2 separate regions of the Homo sapiens genome follow, and region 2 is linked to region 1. The links are contacts of gene promoters, found by promoter capture Hi-C in human tissues and cell types (Jung and others, 2019). All regions are on one chromosome and are shown on one strand. Each heading gives the region's core, a stretch centred on a gene start or on the middle of the fragment in contact. The rest is flanking DNA. Distances are from core to core; before and after follow the strand shown.

What was found. The method cuts DNA at HindIII sites, captures the fragments that hold promoters and counts their contacts. A contact is called where the count stands out against the background at its distance.
Region 2: a fragment that was not itself captured here is called in contact with the fragment with the promoter of PRKCSH in region 1 in 1 of the 25 tissues and cell types used here (spleen).

The regions. Positions count from the first base shown.
Region 1 is chr19:11,432,102-11,438,088 of GRCh38, reverse strand. PRKCSH (PRKCSH beta subunit of glucosidase II) reads right to left here and starts at 2,454. Exons shown (of 18, transcript NM_001289104.2): 1 at 2,383-2,454; 2 at 1,893-2,048; 3 at 1,584-1,700; 4 at 118-213; 5 at 1-22. The coding sequence starts at 1,971. It overlaps ODAD3 (outer dynein arm docking complex subunit 3), which reads left to right and starts at 2,968. Exons shown (of 13, transcript NM_145045.5): 1 at 2,968-3,316. The coding sequence starts at 3,073. RefSeq lists enhancers at 1,897-2,116, 2,367-2,776, 2,350-2,849. The HindIII fragment of the contact is 12,471 bases long and covers 1-3,981 here.
Region 2 is chr19:10,896,148-10,902,134 of GRCh38, reverse strand. All of the region lies in intron 1 of CARM1 (coactivator associated arginine methyltransferase 1), which reads right to left. Among named protein-coding and RNA genes, the nearest start is that of CARM1, 28 kb to the right of the region's middle. RefSeq lists an enhancer at 2,273-2,890. The HindIII fragment of the contact is 8,039 bases long and covers 1-5,987 here.

The DNA of each region.
Region 1 (5,987 bases), core at 1,205-3,704:
TCGTCTGTTCCATCGCAGCAGTCTGTGGCAGAGGCAGAAGCCAAGATCAGACCTGGCAGTGCCTCCTCCCTCCCTCCCTCTACCACCTTTCCAGAATCCTGGTGCATCTTCACTTACCACAAACACCATCGTTGACCCGGTTGGAGGGGATATACAGGGGCTTATAGCCAGTGTTGGTGCAGTGGAAGCTGCCATTAGGACAGGCAGCCGTGCCTGTGAGGAAGAAGGGAGGGAAGGTTTTCGGAGTCAGCTCAGGGACAGACATGTCCCATCCATCCACAGATAAGAGCCCCTGACCCACACTGCACACAGCACAAGAAAGGAAAGGAAACCAAAGGAAGGAAAGAGTTGTACACTGCACAGCCAGGGCTCGAAATAAAGCTCTCCAGTGCCGCCTCCTGCCTCTTCTCACTGAGGCCCTTCAAAACAGGGTCTCCACCTGGCACGGGGGCTCACACCTGTAATCCCAGCACTTTGGGAGGCCGAGGCGGGTGGGTCACCTGAGGTGATGAGTTTGAGACCAGCCTGGCCAACACGATGAAACTCCATCTCTACTAAAAATACGAAAAATTAGCCGGATGTGGTGGCATGTGCCTGTAATCCCAGCTACTCAGGAGGCTGAGGCAGGAGAATCGCTTGAACCCGGGAGGTGGAGACTGCAGTGAGCCAAGATCATGCCACTGCACTCCAGCCTGGGCGATAAGAGTGAAACTCCATCTCAAAAAAAAAAATTAAAAACAAAACAAAACAAGGCCAGGTACGGTGGCTCACGCCTGTAATCCCAACACTTTGGGAGGCCGAGGCGGGTGGATCACAAGGTGACGAGATCGAGACCATCCTGGCTAACACAGTGAAACCCTGTATCTACTAAAAATACAAAAAAAAACTAGCTGGGCGTGGTGGTGGGTGCCTGTAGTCCCAGCTACTCAGGAGGCTGAGGCAGGAGAACGGTGTGAACCCGGGAGGCGGAGCTTGCAGTGAGCCGAGATGGCGCCACTGCACTCCAGCCTGGGAAACAGAGCAAGACTCCGTCTCAAAACAAAAACAAAACCAAAGACACGGTCTCATCCAGGCACGGTGGCTCACACCTGTAACCCCAGCACTTTGGGAGGCCAAGGCAGGAGGATGACTTGAGCCCAAGAGTTCCAGGCTGCAGTGAGCTACGATCATGCCACTGTACTCCAGCCTCAGCAACAAAGCAAGACCCTGTCTCTTCAAAACACACAAAAACAAAAAGCCAGGGTCTCCCTTCACCTCTGTCTCCTGCTGGATTGCTCTTGGCCCCACCCTGTCTCCCACTTCTAGGGGTTTGCCCGTGTTGACCCCTCCATCTGCAGCACCTTCGGGATTCAACTGAAACCTCACCTCCTTGGAGGAGCCTTCTCTGACCCCGAGGCTTGGGAGGAGGACGACTCTGGGCTCCTCCAGCTGCCCGGGGCCATAACACTGACCACTGACTTCTGAGCTTGTTTCTGCCCACTCAAAGGGGAGCCAGCAGAGGTAGTATCTTGGTCACACAGACAGGGCCTGGCACTGAGCAGTGTTCAATAAACATCTGATGGATGAACAGAGAAAAGGCTCACCTGGCTCGTCAGAGCCATCTTTGCAGTCGCAATAGTCATCGTTGACCTGATCAAATGGGATGGTGGCCGAACCGTCCAGGCAGGTGAAAGGCTTGGACTCATCGTAGAAGTGATGATCTGCGGGGTACAGGAAGCTCAGCCCAGGGCAGGTAAGCGCCTTCTCCACCAAATACCACCTCTGTCCTCCCATCCCCACCAGCGGAGCACTACCGGGAAACTGAGTCAAAAGGCTGTAAATGCCTATCCCTAAGGCCCAATGTTGGCCCCTCCCACCTCCAGCCTGGCGGGAGGGTGAACAGGAGGACTCACTGGTGAGGGAGACGCCCCGGGGCCTCTTGACCTCCACGGCCCAGCACATGGGTAGCAGCAGCAGCAGCGGCAACAGCATCTCACCAGACGCTCTGAGGCCCGAAACGGGTTCTGTGGGAGGAAGCCTACAGCGGGGAGATGCGCTGTGTCTTCACGCTGCAGGAAGAAAGCGGATCCCGGTCAGTGGGAGAGGGCTACTTCCAGCCAATTGGATTCCTCCATCGCTTCCAGGCAATGAGGCCTCACTTTGTTTCCGATATGGGGGCGAGGGGCAGCGATCTCCCCAATCCTGGCCAGTCTCACTTTGCTCAAATCAATGGCGAGGATCTCAAGATCTCAAAACCTCCGCTCCCTGTGCCCAATTGTGACCCAATTCCCGCCAACAGACCAAAGGGATTAACAGCCTCCGCCGTCCACACCCACACATGCACCCTCCGGTTGCCCCCTGTAAGAAACTGAGGTGCCCTCCCACCCGCTCGTTCACACCTACACGAGGCCGGAGCAAAGGTCAGTATCCACCGCACCCCTCTTGTCCAGCAGCCGCGGTTCCTGCTGCAGAAAGAAAGCGGAAATTTCTGGACCCCGTCACTTCCGGTCGTACGTTCCGCACCGGGAACGGAGACTCAGGGTCGCCATGTTGGGAGAGGCAGGAGTGGGGGCGGTGCCAGAGCCGAGACGGCCATCTTGGGCAGGACTGTGAAACCTTAGAGAGGATAGTTCTGAGGGCTAGCTCTTAATGGCGGCGCAGCGTACCTCCATCTTGGGAGTGGCGGCTTCTCAAGCCGGAAAGAAAGTTCCTGAAAAATGCCCGCGAACCCCCAGGGGCGGGATAAGGTTGGGGGAGGTAGGGAAACGGAATGAGCACGTGACCCCAAAGTGTCCAGACCCTCCGTCCTGCGGCGCGGCTCTACCCCGCCCACTGTTGGGACCGCCCCTCTATGCAGCCTCAGCCAATGAGAACGCAGTGTCAGCCACGGAACGCGGGTGATCTCCATGGAAACAGTGGAGAGAGACGGGGAGGCGGTTACCTGGCAACCGAGAGATGCGGAGCGCAACCACCTAGCGGTCGGAAAGTGCATTTTTCAGAGCCCTAGGAATCCGAGCTGACGGATCCCTGACAGGGGCGACTGACTCCTAGTTATCCCCCTAACCCCTAGGGGCCTTCAGCCCCAACCCCATCATGACATCTCCTCTGTGCAGGGCGGCCTCCGCCAACGCCCTGCCTCCTCAGGACCAGGCTTCGACGCCCTCTTCCAGGGTCAAGGGCAGGGAGGCTTCGGGCAAACCCAGCCACCTCCGAGGCAAGGGCACAGCCCAGGCGTGGACCCCAGGCCGTTCCAAGGGAGGATCCTTCCACAGAGGTGCAGGGAAGCCCTCTGTGCACTCTCAGGTGGCTGAGTTACATAAAAAGATACAACTGTTAGGTAAGATGGCTCCAGAGGGTACAGAGGGTCAGGGGTCAACAGTGCCCATCCAATCTTCATGGTGTGACAAAGGTATTTCTCCAGCATGAGTCTAGGTAAACCGTTTCTGGGCAAAAACTCATACTTAGTTCATGTTTTTCCTTCTCTGTCTCTTAAAACTTCTCATGGGTTCAGAACCGACTGAACTGTACTTCATACTTTCTTGTAATTTATTTTCTCTATTTTTTTTTTTTTTTTTGGCAGAATCTCACTCTGTTGCCAGGTGGGAGTGCAGTGGAACGATTTCGGCTCACTGCAACCTCCGCCTCCCGGGTTCAAGCGATTCTCCTGCCTCAGCCTCTTGAGTAGCTGGGACTACAGGCACACGCCACCACGCCTAACTAATTTTTGTATTTTTAGTACAGAGGGATTTCACCATATTGGCCAGGGTGGTCTCAATCTCTTGACCTCCCAAACTGCTGGGATTACAGGCGTGAGCCCGCCTCGGCCTCCCAAACTGCTGGGATTACAGGCGTGAGCCACTGCACCCGCGTTTTTTTTTGTTTTGTTTTTTGTTTTTTGAGACAGGGTCTTGCTCTGTCGCCTAGGCTGGAGAGCAGTGGCATGATCTCGGCTCACTGCAACCTCTGCCTCCAAGGTTCAAGCGATTCTCGAGCCTCAGCCTCCTGACTAGCTGGGACTATAGGTGCGTGCCACCACACCTAATTTTTATATTTTTAGTAGAGACTGGGTTTCACCATGTTGGCCAGGCTGGTCTCGAACTCCTGATCTCAAGTGATCCACGGCCTTGGCTCCCAAAGTGCTGGGATTACATGTGTGAGCCACCGCGCCCAGCCTTCTTTCTTTCTGACAGGGTCTTGCTCTGCTGTTGAGGCTGGAGTGTAGTGGTTGGATAACAGTTCACTGCAGACTTGACCTCCTAGGCTCAAGCGATCCTTCCACCTCAGCCTCCTGAGTAGCTGGGACTACAGGCATACACCACTGTGCTTGGCTAATTTTCTTACTTTTTGTAGAGATGGGGTCTCACTATGCTGCCCAGGCTGGTCTCAAACTCCTGGGCTCAAGCAATCCTTCCTCCTCAGCCTCCCAAAGTGCTGGGGTTACAGGCATGGGCCGCTGCACCTGGCCTGAGCATAGATTTTTAGAGCCAGATTTTCTGGGTTGGAATCCTGGCTCTGCATAATAGTTGTCCAACCTTGGGGGACTAAGAGTAACCTAATTGTTCTCAGTTTCTCGATGTGTGAAATGGGGATAGTAACAGTACAACATAGGTACCTGAAATGTGTAAAGTGCTTAGAACAGTGCCTGGCACATAGCAAAGTACCATAAGGTGTAAACCAGTGGTTCTTGTTGGAAAAGGGTTGGTTTGCCCCACAGGGGCCATTTGGCAATGTCCTAAGACATTGAGACCAGCATGGCCAACACGGTGAAACGCTGTCTCTACTAAAAATACAAAAAATTAGCCGGGCATGGTGGCATGGATGTCTGTTGTGGGTGTGTGTCTGCCACTGGCATCTAGTGGGCAGAGTTGAAGATGCTGCCCAACATTCTGCAAAACACAGGAGAGCACCCCACGGCAAATAATTATTCGGCCCAGTTGTTGGTCATCCTGAGGTTGCAGAATCCTTGTGTGTAAGCTATTATTATTGCTTTTGTTGATATTATTAAGAGGTAATCATGGCTGGGCGAGGTGGCTCACACCTGTAATCCCAGCACTTTGGGAGGCTGAGGTGGGCGGATCATTTGAGGTCAGGAGTTTGAGACCAGCCTGGCCAACATAGTGAAACCCCATCTCTACTAAAAGTACAAAAATTAGCCGGGCATGGTGGCGCACGCCTGTAATCCCAGCTACTTGGAAGGCTGAGGCAGGAGAGGGGCTTGAACCCAGGAGGTGGAGGTTGCGGTGAGCCAGGATTGCGCCACTGCACTCCAGCCTGGGTGACAGAGTGAGATTCCGTCTTAAAAAAAAAAAAGGGTAATCTTGCATGGTTGCTTGTGACCTTAAGCAGTTTAATCAGCCCAAGCCTCTGTCTTGTCATCTGTGCAAGGGGTATGATATGCGTATGCCATGGATACCTATTGGCACGTGATATATGGCATTCGGAAACCTCTTAGTCCAGCATCCAACACATAATAAATGCTCACAGTGAAGTACAGTTGACCGTTGAACACCATGTGTTCACATATATCATTCATCCTTTCAAGTTAAAAAAAATTGAGATGGGCAGGCCGGGCACAGTGGTTCATACCTGTAATCCCAGCACTTTGGGAGGCTGAGGCAGGAGGATTGCTAGAGGCCAGGAGTTCGAGACCAGCCTGGGCAACATAGTGAGATCCTTGACTCTACAAAAAATAAAGTAGCCAGATGTGGTGGCACATGCCTCTAGTCCTAGCTACTTGGGAGGCTGAGGCAGGAGGACTGCTTGAGCTCAGGAGGTTGAGGCTTCAGTGAGCAGTGATAGCACCACTGCACTTCATTCTGGGTGACAGAGCAAGACCCAGTCCCAAAAAAGAAAAGAAAAGAAAATACAACAGTCCTGGAATGCAAAACCTGAGTATACAGAGGGACAACTGTTTGTATCTGCAGGTTCCACAGGGCTGACTGTGGGACTTGAGTATGGAAGGATTTTGGGGTTTTTTGTTTTGTTTTGTTTTGTTTTTTGAGACAGAG
Region 2 (5,987 bases), core at 1,375-3,874, 540 kb after region 1:
AGCTGGGGGACTACAGGTGTGCACCACCACGTCCAGCTTATTTTTGTAGTTTTCGTAGAGATGGAGTTTCACCATGTTGGTCAGGCTGGTCTTGAGCTCCTGAGCTCAAGCGCTCTGTCTGCCTCGGCGTCCCAAAGTGCTGGGATTACAGAGGTGAGCCACTGTGCCCGGCCTATATATTTTCTTGAGACAGATTCTTGATCTGTTGCCCAGGCTGGAGTGCAGCAGCACTATCTTGGCTCACTGCAACCTCTGCCTCCTGAGTAGCTGCGTTCAAGCGATTCTTATGCCTCAGCCTCCTGAGTAGCTGGGATTACAGACATGCATCATCACACCCAGTAATTTCTGTATTTTTGGTAGAGACGGGGTTTTGTCATGTTGGCCAGGCTGGTTTTGAAGTCCTAGCCTCGTGTGATCTGTCCGCCTCGGCATCTCAAAGTGCTGGGATTACAGGCATGAGCCACTGGGCTGGGCCAAGAACTTTTTTAACTCAACAACAAAGAGATAGCCAGGGCCAGGCACAGGCTCATGCCTGTAATCCCAGCACTTTGGGAGGCCAAGATGGGAGGATAACTTGAGGCCAGGAGTTCAAGGTCAGCCTGGGCAACATAGTAAGACCCCATCTCTATCGCTACAAAAAAATAAACAAAATTAGCCGGGCATGGTGGTGCATGCCTGAGATCCCAGCTACTCGGGAGGCTGAGGTGGAAGGATTGCTTGAGCCCGGGAGCTCAAGGTTGCAGTTAGCTATGACTGCCTGTGAACAGCCACTGCACTCCAGCCTGGGCAACATAGCAAGACTCCACCTCTTTAAAAAAACAAAAACAAAAACAAACAAACAAACAAAAAGCTGGCCAAGTGCAGTGGCTCATGCCTGTAATCCCAGCACTTTGGGAGGCCGAGGCAGGCAGATCACCTGAGGTCAGGAGTTCAAGACCAGCCTGGTCAACATGGCAAAATGCCGTCTCTACTAAAAACACAAAAATTAGCCAGACATGATGGTGGGTGCCTGTAGTCCCAGCTACTCAGGAAGCTGAGACAGGGAGAATTGCTTGAATCAGGGAGGTGGAGGTTGCAGTGAGCTGAGATAGCGCCACTGCACTTTAGCTTGGGCAACAGAGTGAGACTCCGCTTCAGAAAAAAAAAAAAAAAGTCCGGGTGCAGTGGCTCACACCTGTAATCCCAGCACTTTGGGGGGCCGAGGCGGGTGGATCACAAGGTCAGGAGATCGAGACCATCCTGGCTAACACGGTGAAACCCCGTCTCTACTAAAAATACAAAAAATTAGCCGGGTGTGGTGACGGGTGCCTGTAGTCCCAGCTACTCGGGAGGCTGAGGCAGGAGAATGGCAGGAACCTGGGAGGCGGAGCTTGCGGTGAGCCGAGATCACGCCACTGCACCCCAGCCTGGGCGACAGAGCCAGACTCATCTCAAAAAAATAAAAATAAAAACAAAACAAAGCAAAAAAAACCAACAGACACTCGTATGCAAGCATTCACAGCAGTACTTATTCACGACAGACACAAGATAGAAATACAACCCAAATGTCCATAAACTGACAAACAGATAAACAAATATGGCTTATCTATAAAATGAAACATTATTCAGCCATAAAAATAAAGGAAGCACTGAGCCATGCTGCAACATGAATGAATAGCAGAAACATCATGCCGAAAGAAGCCAGACACAAATGATTCTATTTATATGAAATAGTCACAGAAGGCACACTGCTGGTGGCTGAGAGCTGGGAGAAGGCAGGAATGGGGAGCAACTGCTTAATGGATGTGGGGTCTCCTTTTGGGGTGACAAACATATTTTGGGAGTAGATAGAGGTGATTGTTATGCAACATTGTAAAAGGGCTAATTTCATGTTATGAAACAACAGCTCTTGACCTCCCAGGCTCAAGACATCCTCCCACCTCAGCCTCCCGGGTAGCTGGAACCTCACGCACATGCCACCACCCCTGGCTAATTTTGTTTATTTTTTTGTAGAAATGAGGGTCTCACTATGTTGCCCAGGCTAGTCTGAAACTCCTGGGGCTCAAGTGATCCTCTCACCTTGGCCTCCAAAGTGCTGGGATTACAGGTGTGAATTTTGTTTCAATAGAAAATGAAAAATGGGCCAGGCGTGGTGGCTCACGCCTGTAATTCCAGCACTTTGGGAGGTGGGCGGATCACTTGAACCCAGGAGTTTGAGACACACCTGTCCAACATGGCAAAACCCCGTCTTTACTAAAAATACAAAAATTAGCAAGGCATGATGGCGGGTGCCTGTAATCCCAGCTACTCAGGAGGCTGAGGCAGGAGAATCGCTTGAACCCGGGAGGTGGAGGTTGCAGTGAGCCGAGATGGCACCACTGCACTCCAGCCTGGACGACAGAGTGAGACTCCGTCTCAAAAAAAAAAAAAAAGAAAAAGAAAAAGAAAACTGTTCCTAACTGACGAGTCCAGGTATGAGGGCCTACAGATATGAGACCTGAAGGGCAGCTCCCCGGCCACACCCAGCCAGTCCTGCCAGACTCTCTCCCACCCCAGGAGCCAGGTGCCGCCCTCCTGAGGGCAGGGCATGGAGGAACCTCCTGAGCCCTGCCAGGAGGGTGTCAGCAGGCCACTGCCCCAGACTCACAGCCTCACTACACCCACAGAGGCCCAAGATAAAGTGCTCCCAGCTGTGGGTGGGTCCCAGGAAGGGACATCCAACCTTGGCATGGTGCCCACACTCATACCCGTCCTGGGGCAGGAGATACTGTCGATCTGTTAGCCACACCTGGGCGACAGCAAGTGGGCCCAGGGAGGCCTGTTTACCAAGCAGCCTGGCAACCCGATGTTGCCTGAGGCGTCCCTCTCTGACCTGGCGCCAGGCAGGCAACTACAGGACCTGTGGCCAAGTGAAGCCTGGCTGTGCCCAGCCAGGGCTAGGGCTGGGCTTGGGCCAAAGATGCCGGGGCTGAGGGCAAGTGGATCGCTTCATCACAGCAGCAGCTGCTAAAGCCCGCGGAGCCGGCAGCTTCTCAAAGTCACAGCTTTATCCCCAAGTTAGTCCCTGGCACACAGAAGACACCTGGGAAATACTGACAAACCAAAAAAAAAAAAAAAAAAAACAAGCTAAGCCGTGTTCCTCTCTTTGTTCAGGAGACTCCCGAGCCTCTGAGCTCTGTGCCCATCATTCCTCATGGCTCTCCCCGTCTTGGCCCCTCCCCATGGACACACTCAACCCTCTAGTCCCTACATGGGCCAGGCCCCAGGCCTCTGCACATGCTGTTCCCACTTTCTCCCTTCCTCTCCCCTCCCTCTGCTACTATGGGTCCAGTGGGCCATCGCACACCTGGCCCAGGGTCACCTCTGAGTAGGCAGGGAATGCACAGCCTGTCTCCTGGCTTGCGAACAGCACCCCAGGAGGAGGGTAGAAGGGAGCCTTGGGGCCCGGGACGCACAGGCATCTGGATCCAGCAGTGGCGATTCAGTGCTCGCCACAGATGCAGCCCTGCCCGCAGGAAACTCACTGTGGCATCCTCTCAAGGCCAGCAACCACCTCCCAAAGCGGCCATTCAGCTGGGGAGGAGCAGTATGGGAGCCGCGGAAGGGGGCAGGACCCCAGGATTCAGAAAGGCCCTCTGTGTTGGCCTCTAGAGACAAATCCAAAAAGCACCACTGTTGCGGCATCAGCCGGCGCATGTTGGGGACTGTGTGCACATGGCCTGGAGAGGTGGGGGACAGGCTGCAGGGCTAGCAGGCAAGGGTGACCAAAAAGCAGACTCTAGAGCCAGGAGGCCGTGGTGAGTTCAGGCCAATTGAGGCCAGGCCACAGCTGGGGTATCTTTTTTTTTTGAGACTAAGTCTCACTCTGTCGCCTAGACTGGAGTGCAGTGGCAAAATCTCAGCTCACCGTAACCTCCATCTCCCAGGTTCCAGCGATTCTCCTGTCTCAGCCTCCCGAGTAGCTGGGATTACAGGCATGCACCACCACACCTGGCTAATTTTTGTATTTTTATTAGAGACAGGGTTTCTTTTTTTTTTTTTCTTTTTTTTGAGACGGAGTCTCGCTGTCTCCCAGGCTGGAGTGCAGTGGCGCAATCTTGGCTCACTGCAGGCTCCACTCCCTGGGGTTCACGCCATTCTCCTGCCTCAGCCTCCCGAGTAGCTGGGACTACAGGCGCCCGCCACCTCGCCCGGCTAATTTTTTTTGTATTTTTTGTAGAGACGGGGTTTCACCGTGTTAGCCAGGATGGTCTCGATCTCCTGACCTCGTGATCCGCCTGCCTCAGCCTCCCAAAGTGCTGGGATTACAGGAGTGAGCCACCGCATCCAGCCTAGAGACAGGGTTTCACCTCGTTGACCAGGCTGATCTCAAACTCCTGATCTCAGGTGATTCACCCACCTCGACCTCCCAAAGTGCTGAGATCACCGGTGTGAGCCACCGTGCCCGGCCCAGAGCTAGCATTTCTTTACCCTGCAGTAAAAGGAAAGGGACTGGGATCTCCAGGTGGAGTCTCCAACGGGGAACGTAAAGAACACAAACCCGGACTGAGTGTTACGCTTTGGCCACCCCTGGACCCAGCCTGGGGCTACTCGCTGGCCTGCCACACTGCAGTCGGCCCTGATGAAGCTCTGGGGCCAAGGGAGGAGGGGCTGGAACTGCAGGGAAGGGGGTAGAAAAATTGCCCCATCTTTGAGGCAGCCTTTCTTGCTTCCCAGGAAGCAGCCCTCCACCATGTGAATCCAGGTCACAAACCCCCAGCTGCCATGAGCCAGGCCTGCCCACACCCTGCAGAGGCTGGGATGTCACATGACATAAGAGTGACAACACTCTAACAGCCAGGCTCTGTTCCGGTGCCTTATGTCGACCTCCTGTTTCCTCTTCTCATCACTTCTGGGAGTATCTACTCTCACTATGCCCTTATTTGCTCAGAGAGGTTAAGTGTCTTGCTCAAGGTCACACAGCAAGAGTGGCCGAGGTGACTGGCACCAGCATCCCTATTCCTCACCAATGCACCACCCAATGTCTCTGCGCTTCCTAGAGCAGGCCTTGGCTGACTTTCTGTGTAAAGGACCAGACAGTAAATATTGTGTGCTTCCTGGGGAATCTGATCTCTGCTGGGGAATCTGATCTCTGCTACAATGATTCTATTCTGCCTTGCAGCAGACAATATGTAAACAAATGAGCATGGCTGTGTGCCCATAAAGCTTCATTTGCAAAACCCGGAAGGATTACAGGTGCAGAGCAGAGGCTGGACCCTCAGCATCCTCGCCACCCACTTCCCTATCTGCTCACTAGGCACTCGGCAATGGAGACACACTCCCCATCCTAGAGGCGGTGAGGACAGCCGAGTGGCAGACTGACAGAGATCCCCAAGTGGTGGACTCTGTAGGTGCCTGGAGGTGGCACCTGACCCAGCCTGGGAAGGAGACTGGGGACAGATATGCCAGTAAGGGGAAGAGTGCAGGAACGCAGGGAAACAGGGGTGGCCCAGACAGTGTGGTGAGCCCTGGGAGGCTACTGGGACAGACCTCCAAGAAACGTGGGTTGATGTGGGTAGGGGCGCTGTGGAGGGACTGCAAGAGGCCCCAGTGGACTGGTGGCTTGGCTCTGGGCAGCACTGGGAGGGATCTTGCGCAGGGTGGGGAGAGACCCACCGTCACACAGGATAGGGAAGGAGCCAAGTGCTATGGCTGGCCAGGCAGGAGGCAATGGGGATGGGGAAGAGGGCAGCTCTTGGTGGACTGGCTGCTGTTCCCCACCTGCCTTAGAGTCAGCATGCTGCACATCCCCTCCTTATTGGCCCCCCAGGGCAGCAGAATCTGGGGGACTCTAAGGTATAAGGATTCCCTAGCCCCAGACTTGAAGAAAATACACTAGAGAATGGTGGGTGGGGCAGCAAGCAGCTCCACGGCAGCCCTGGGTCCCAGCATGCAGGAGGGTCTTGGAAGAACGGGGAGACGTCTCTCAAGGGTCTCACTGAGCAGATGGTGCCGGGCGACATACCATG